Regions from separate parts of the Homo sapiens genome. Here regions 1 and 3 are each linked to region 2. Evidence: promoter capture Hi-C in 16 types of primary human blood cells and fetal thymus (Javierre and others, 2016). All regions are on one chromosome and are shown on one strand. The core of a region is centred on a gene start or on the middle of the fragment in contact, and the rest is flanking DNA. Distances in the headings are between cores, read along the strand shown.

Evidence for each region. The method cuts DNA at HindIII sites, captures the fragments that hold promoters and counts their contacts. A CHiCAGO score of 5 or more calls a contact.
Region 1: a contact is called between a fragment that was not itself captured here and the fragment with the promoter of LAMB4 in region 2, in 1 of 17 cell types (endothelial precursors). The highest score is 5.3, in endothelial precursors.
Region 3: a fragment that was not itself captured here is called in contact with the fragment with the promoter of LAMB4 in region 2 in 1 of 17 cell types (endothelial precursors); the score reaches 5.2 in endothelial precursors.

The regions. Positions count from the first base shown.
Region 1 is chr7:108,006,424-108,009,255 of GRCh38, forward strand. No RefSeq gene overlaps it. Among named protein-coding and RNA genes, the nearest start is that of LAMB1, 4.7 kb to the left of the region's middle. The HindIII fragment of the contact is 4,097 bases long and covers 1-2,832 here.
Region 2 is chr7:108,129,109-108,131,808 of GRCh38, forward strand. It overlaps LAMB4 (laminin subunit beta 4), which reads right to left and starts at 1,253. Exons shown (of 34, transcript NM_007356.3): 1 at 1,198-1,253. The HindIII fragment of the contact is 5,422 bases long and covers 1-2,130 here.
Region 3 is chr7:108,051,492-108,054,191 of GRCh38, forward strand. LAMB4 (laminin subunit beta 4) reads right to left here. Exons shown (of 34, transcript NM_007356.3): 26 at 606-766. Among named protein-coding and RNA genes, the nearest start is that of LAMB1, 50 kb to the left of the region's middle. The HindIII fragment of the contact is 948 bases long and covers 797-1,744 here.

The DNA of each region.
Region 1 (2,832 bases), core at 330-2,829, 120 kb before region 2:
TCCCACAAGACTTTGACCCCTCCTCTCCCATTTATCTTGCCCTTCTCTGATCCCTTAAACATTGGTGCTACCAAAGGTTCTGTCTCTCTTTTCTGCTCCCTTTACTCATCCATATCCAGGGGTGCATCACTTGGACTCTCCTCAACCTCTAATTCCCATATCTCTAGCTTGTACCTCACTTGGAATTTACATACCATTTCCAACAGGCCATTGAATATCTCTACTTTGATGACCCATAGGTAAATGAAATTCATCTGTGGCAAAACTGAAATCTCTCCACCCACCTCTCCTACAACAAAATGTGTTCTGTCTTCTGTTTCCCATTTCAATTATTGGCACCATAATCCACCCCTTAGCTCAAGACGGAGATCTGGGAACAGGACTGGCTGCATGATTAGCAGGGCACAAATGTGGAGCCCCTCTATTATTATTAATGTAAAGACAGTGAAAGAGCATTAAACCTAGCATGGGACTCTCCTGAGTGGGGTAGGGGGTGCTGTGCAATTGCACAAATCACATGCCCATGAAGCCAGCCTAGCCTGGGAATCTTGGGCACCTCTCGTTCCTTCATTCCCTCCCCTCCCCATCACTAGGTCCTGTCATTTCTACTTTCCTAGCAACTAGCCAGCATGTCCCCTTGCTCCAACCTCATTGCCCTCCCTTAGATTTCAGTCTGAATGCCTGCCAGAGCCCCCGACAAGTGTTCCTACTTCCAGACTCTTCCTCTCTTCAGTCTAATCCTTCCTAATACCCGCAGAAGGATTTTTTCAGAGTCAAAACTTTGATCATGTCATTCCCTTATTCAAAAGCCTTCAATGGCTGCCCTCTGCTCCTTCCCTGTGTATGACATACTTTATTCCTTCATGGCTTTCCTTTCACTACGTGGGTCCTCCTTGACCTTGTCAACTTAGTGAACTGCACACCTTTGAAGACTCCTCTTAAACATGACTTTCTCCATGAGCCTCTCTCTCCTCCTCCTTGTAAAAGCCTGTTACAGCATATATAACATAATGCTGTAACTATTTGTTTATGCCCTTATCTCCCCCAATAGACAGTGAGACAAGGACAAGTATTGTGTAACATTCGTTTTTGCATTAATGTTGCCTTGCATAAAATGAGGCACATTACATGTGCTCAATAAGTGTGTCTCGAATGAAAGTAAATGAAGACTAGTCTCCATGTTTTAAAAACTTCCTTAAATCTTAAATGTCCACTTTTTTCTACCTTAATATGAATTTCTAGCCAAAGAGAAAAAGAAATACCACCACTTGACTTAATTTTGGGAATAATTCCAAGTTTCACTCACAAATTCTTCTCGTCTATTATATTTCATACAATTTCCTCTGATTTGTGAAGATGTGACAAGTTGAGGAGGAATGAATCTCTTCTGTTAGTAAGCCTGTCCAGGGCTTTGCTCTGGCTGTCAACACAACCCTCTCTCGTCTATCATTTGTACTAAGCTGGCACTACCTGCTTTAGCATAAAGCAGTCTTTACCAAAGAATTCTGCAGCAGTTTAAATGGCAGATGGGATTGCAAATTGTTGGCTGTTCTGTCTCAAAGAATGTGTGACAGTTATCTCCCTGCAGCATTTATTATTTTCGTTTGAAAACAAAACAAGAACTGTTTTCAAGGTCACCTTCACTTTCACACAGTCTTAGAACACCGTGTGTGTCTCCTTTGAAATCCTGATTGACAGTAGAACAACAAGGATGCTACATTCTAGACTTCAATCTTTGGGTCCTGAAATGTGGCTATTTATATAACATTGTTCTCATGAAAAATACTAGATTTTTCTGTTTTAAAAATTAGATTTAAGTGCATTTTGTGAGATTCAGAATTGATCTAGAAAAGTAAATTCAATGACCAGTAAGATTCAGGTCAAATGTCATGCTATACTTTATATATATATATGTCTTTTATAATACGTACAACAGTAATTTGTAGTTTTGTTTTAGTTTCCTTCTTCCCAGAAGCAGAGACTGTCTTTCATTAGACTTTGGATTCCCGTCAGGTGGCAGTTTCTAGTATATTATAGACACACAATATCTGCTTGTTGGATGAATAAAATTGAGTAACCTTCTTTATAATTGTTAAGGGAACACACAGGGGACGTTATTGCTACCCTCTGTAATAGGAAAACCATCAGGGCCTGAAACCAGGCAGGAAGTCACAACATTTTAAGCCTCGAACCATATAATGCAAACAGTAGTTTGGGCTTGCGTTAACATTCATCCTCCCTTCATCTGGTAACATTGGCTGGATTTTCCTTGAGGGACTAGTCCTCTCCCATTTTCAGCTTACTTGATTTGAATAGGGCTAATTCCCCCATGAACTCCAGGCTATTCAGTGCATTTCCATCTTCCTCTTTCTAGTGAGTGGTTCAGGGATGGATATGAAACTCATATATTCTAGATAAGATGACTCTGGGATTTTTGTTGGAATTCCTGGGAAAAAACAAACAACCAAAAAACAAAAAACACCTCTTTTTCCCTCTGGACTTGGGAGTTATGTGAATGTCAGCCTGGAACTGGTGGAGGCTGCTTGAGACTGGAGCCAACACAAAGGAAAGAAGATCTGAGGGAACCAGAGGGTGGGTCCTTGAAGAACACTTTGGAGTATCTTGATCCAGCTATACCTGAAGCCAGTACACTTTACCTTAGCCAATACATTTTTCTAGACATGTAGCATGAGAGAGACCTAAACTTGTTGTTTTTAGCCTGAAATTTAGGAGGCTTTAAAAAAACTGCAGCATATTGACTGATGCAGGCAGGACTTTATCAACACTGTCTTAAAAATGGTCATTTGTTGGCCAGGCGTGGTGACTCACGCC
Region 2 (2,700 bases), core at 3-2,502:
CTCACTTGAAGGCTGCAAAGAGTTTACTCTTTTTTGTCAAAACAATTTGGATGAAACAGATGAAGAGAAAAGGGCCATGTGGTGCCCATTTGCCCAGCTCCTAGAACCACAGGTGCATCGTGTTTGATAAGAGCCTCTCCGCAGGAAAGACATGCATTCCGCTCCTGTTTCTACTACAGCACCTTTCTTCTGCAAATTGGACAGTAATTTATAACACAGAAGATAATTATAAATACATTTATATTAGCCCTTAAGACTTTTTCTGGTACACAAATAATTGTCTATAAAGTGACAGTTCTCAGAAATCTTGTATTTAACTTTCCTTTGTCTAACTTTTTTTCATGTTATGTCAGGACTCATTAGATATTTCAACTGTTTTGCCTAAATTTCATCATAGTGAGGAATGCAGAATACAGAACTATAAAGTTTACTTTTTTTTTTTTTTTGGAGACAGAGTCTTCCTCTGTCACCCAGGCTGTAGTACAGTGGCACATTCTTGGTTCACTGCAACCTCAACCTCCCATGCTTAAGCAGTCCTTCCATCTCAACCTCCTGAGTAGCTGGGATTACAGGCATGTGCCACTACGGCTGTATAGTTTTTACAGAGATGGGGTTTCGCCATGTTGCTCAGGCTGGTCTTGACCTCCTGAGCTCAAGCAATTTGCCTGCCTCGGCCTCCCAGAGGGCTGGGATTACAGGCATGAGCCACCATGCCCGGCCAAGTTTATGTTTCTTTTAGTTATAGCAGACTTGCTTTTCTTAAAACAATATTTACACATATCTAGAACATTAACAAAATATTTTGAAAATATGGGTAGTTCTAATGCATTTAAACTTTTATAAGTTGTCATAAGTTTTATAACCATAACAAAAACAAACATTTGCTGAAAACACAATACAGTTGTACATTTCAACACTACATCATTTGAAGCTCCCTTCAAGGTACAGTAAGGCTCAAGTTGTTGGCTTCATATCACAATGCACTAACATCAATTTTCCCATTGGATACTGTTTTATGTTGCAAGAACCTTTATTTAAGTGTCATTGGACTATCATTCTGTAAAAGTAATAGTAATCTATGTGCTAATATGTCCCATTTCTTACTTTATGACAACTCCACTTACCCCCTAAATTCTAATACCTTCATTTAATCCATAAAAATGCCAATTTGCTAGTGAGAGAGCAGGCAAGACTTACCAGGATCTGGGAGTCTTTGTGGAGAGGTTCAGGCAGCAAACGGGGCATGTGAAGACACACCTGAAAGTTAGAGCCAGTTTATGTAGAAAACATTCTCCCCGAGGCACCTAAAAGTAGGGAAAAAAAAAGACAAGAGGTATTCCAATGCCTGTCAAAAAGGTGATTTGTGAAGTCACTTAAGTTTTAACTTATACACACACACACACCCACACACACACATAAACAGGGAAATAGAGCTCAGTTTTACAGCAAATATTTTTCTTGTTTTCTCTAAAACCAATTTTAATAGCCAGGAATAATGCACAGACATTTTGTTCCCTGATTTATTTATGTTTTTCTGGTTCATGTTTTAGCGGTCATTTTCAGACAGCTTGATACTTACCAGCTATAAAATGTGCGGAATTAGATGGGCTTGTTTCTCAGGAATGTGAGACCCCTGACTCCATCCCAATCTACTTTCAGGCGGACCAGGTGGAATAGTTTCAGATGGGTTCCCAAGGCTCTGACCAGTCCTACCTGGCTCAAGATCATCTTAAATGGCTCATAGATTTCTGTTTACCTTGTGATTCGGCAAGTACAACTAACCATTGTGGGAATGGCAAGTTTAAGTGGTTTTGGAATCCATGTGGTTTGAAATTTCATTCTCCTACGAGGAAGGTTTATAGTATAGAAATGAACCTACAGCAATCTTACATTTTATTCACTTGTCAGTGGATTAATATCTCCATTTCAAATCTGTGCAGTTTCAATGGGTAAGTTTATTGGTTGCTTGAAAAAACATTTAGGATTTCTAGAAGCTCATGGAAAATACCCTTAGGGAAGAAAAATGATTGTGAACTGAGCCAAAATGAGATGCTCATTTTTACACAACATTTACAAATCAGGAAATAGATTCAACAAACTTTCACCAAATACCACTCTTACAGGCCTTTAAGCTTTTTCAAGGGTATTTTTCAATGCTTCTTACCTGTTATTTGTGTTTTAATTTATTGCTCTATTTTTCCATCGATGCCACTGTTTTTAATTTTGTTCCCTATAGGTCAGGTTCATCTGCTCACTTCTGATGTACTAGAAAGCAAACTCCAAGAGGGCAGGAACATGTCTTTTCCATTTTAGGATGAAGTATAGAAGAAGCTTGCAGTCAATATTTGCTAAACTAACTTGTTTTATTTATTTTTTACAAGCCAACAGCTGCCACAAAGTACCAGGTGGTAGGAGACCAAAGAGCAGTATTTGGTTTTTAGGTGGATACTTCAGCAAAGTGTGTGAGTGAAATCAAGGGACTTTCAGTTTGTTCAATTGACGGGTTTGTGATCTGTTTTATTAGACCAATACTATTTTCCCTTTAGACTCTTAAATTATTGTGCAAAGCATAAACTCTAGGCATTAAAATTTATATAATTTTTAAACTTATTTCAAACATTGGAATTTCATATTGTCTTTTTTGCCTTTTGAGATATGTAAATTTTAAAAGCTTGTTGCATTCTTGAGTGATTTGATTAT
Region 3 (2,700 bases), core at 21-2,520, 78 kb before region 2:
CAGGGGTATGATCTTGAATAGGAGATGAACTAATCAAAAGTTTTGCTTTAGAGTTCCATTTCTCTTGCAAATTATCTTGGCTTAGGCATAGCTCACATTCAGTTTTAAGAACTATGCAATATGAGTTAAGGGTGTGTAGTATGTTGCATGACTCTCATTCTTACAAAGCTCTTATGAGAAATATTGTGGGGTTTTTTTTGCCTCACATTCCATTGCATTTATGGTCACTGAAAATGGAGTGGCCTATACCGAGAAAGGCATATAAACATGTCTCTCTCATTTGCTTATGGCCATATTAGAATTTCTAAGTTGTTGATTATTCAAGACCCCTTACATGGGTTTGGCACTAGATTACTTTGGGTGTTAGCATTTGTTTAATATCAGACATTGTTTACTTGTTATTTTTGAGTGAATGCTAGCCAGGCTCTGTGATGTTTAAAAAGTTGAAATATCCATGAACAAATAATACCTTTAATGGTTGTGTTTGCATGTTCTAAAGTGCTCAGGCACTATGGTGGTAAGCAGGGGACGACTCACTAATGGAATGCACTGTGGATTTCATCAAACTTTGTGCAGACACAGTCAAAAATACATTTTTCCCTTACCCGCAATGCTTGCATTAAGGACACTGGATTGCAAATCAATTTCTTCCTGAAGGTCTTCAAGTAAGAGGTCTGCTTCATTCTTTGCTCTTTCTATTGTATCTTTCAGATCTTGAAATTCATACACTGCTTTCAGTTGTTCATTTAGCTGCATGATTTGTCTTCTATAGAGGAAATAAGGGTAAATGTAGTTAAGCTTGTATTACATTTGATATATTGGTGAAAAAAATGCCACCAAAATTGCCCTCATTGTTAGGAATTCTTGATTAGAAGGGATTCCTTCTACTCGAGTTTTTCATTTGACGGTTTATAATTGTGTTTATGTCTCATCTCTTTCATCTTAATTCACCTTCCTGGACTATTGCAACATTCATTTAAAATATGGACAGCATACCAGGTCTAGTAGAATAAAGGCTCTCAAATCATTCCATTTTGACTGTTTATGCTCTGTCTTTCTTCGTTTTGGGTTTCAAAACATGCATTCAGACATGCTTCAATTAAATCAATCTAAGGGAGCTTTTGGCTTTCAACATATGGTAAAATAGAACCGTTTACTTAGCCTGGGGTCAAATCAGGTCTTCATTTAGAATCAATCTGCATTCAGCAAGGTTCTTTTTAGTGTAACTTCTGTTCAGGGTCCCAACTCTTATTTTCCATTAGTGACAGGGAGGTTTTCTTGCTGGTGAGTGTTCCCCTGGGTTTTTTTCCATCACCTTCTTCTTTGATGGGGTACACCTTTGTTGTGCTTCAATTTGCTGGGTTTAGCACCTACTGTTACTTCGAGGGGATAATGAACACATTCCTCATGATGGAGAAACTGTGCAAATCTTGAAGTGTACAGTTGGGGGAAGTTATAAAATGAATTTATGGGACTAATTTATCTTGGCACAATGGCAATGCTTCCTTCCATTTTCTTTTGTAACTCTCCCCTCTAATCTATAGACTCTTCCTTCAGGCTCCAATTGTCACAACTGCAATTCTTCAGGCTAACAATAATAACAATAAAAATAATGATAATTACTCTAATTGGGACTCCTTAAGCACTTACATATGCCGGACACTATGCTAAGTGATGGGTCTTGAGTAATTCTCACAAGAATCCTATGAAATCCAGACTTTCTCTCTTTTGATGAAGCAATTGAAGCTTGGAGGAGTTTAGTAGCTTGCCGAAAGCCACACATTTAGTAAGTGGATTTAAACCGGGTAGTTTGACTTCTGAATTTATGCTCATGACACCTGGGGTTCTTTGTCCTCCTGTTCCCCTTCCACCTGTAGTTTACCCAGCAACATTTTTTTTAATAGAACTACATGAGGCCTGGAGAAGACAAGCACGTGAGAAGGCAGGCCCTGTCCAGGGTGCCCCACAGCGAGGCAATGGCAAAGGAGCATAAAGAGGTGAGAAGATGGAGAAGGAAATACAGGCTTCTCTGTGAGGAAGTCAGGAAAGGCTTCAGGGAGGAGGTGATGTTTGTGTGGCTGTTAAAGAGAAGTAGGAGTTTGGCAGGTGGGCTAGGAGGGAACAGGCCTCTGGGCTGCTGGTTGAAGAAGCTCAGCAGCCACTGCTTTCTCCTCACTCCAGACCTGGGCTGGGCACTCCTCTTTCTCGCTCTTTCTCTCTGGCTCTGCCTGTGGCTCTTGCAGTCTCTGTCCAGAACGTCCATGGTGGATTGGCTCATTCTGCTTTCTTTGTGCTTTGTCCGACATTTTCCTAATGGTGTCTAACCACAAGCTTGTGGTCCATGGGCCAAAGCTCATTCTCAGACAAGTTTTCTTTGGGCTATACAGTAGGGCTTCTTACAAGTGCTATTGGATTAGCTGTATACATTTTGAAGTGGGGATAGTTCAGTAAAAATATGGATGTCTGACATCTCTTGAAAATTGAGGAGATCTGTTAACATAGGGGTCTAGATCTTGCAACGCAGAAGTTGTATTGCTTTTTTGTTTTTAGAGACAGGGTCTCATTCTATCATCCAGACTGGAGTGCAGTGGCACAATCATAGTTCACTGCAGCCTTGAACTCCTGAGCTCACATGATCCTTTTGCTATGTAGCCCAGGCTGGTCTCGAACTCCTGGCCTCAAGTGATCCTACTGCCTCAG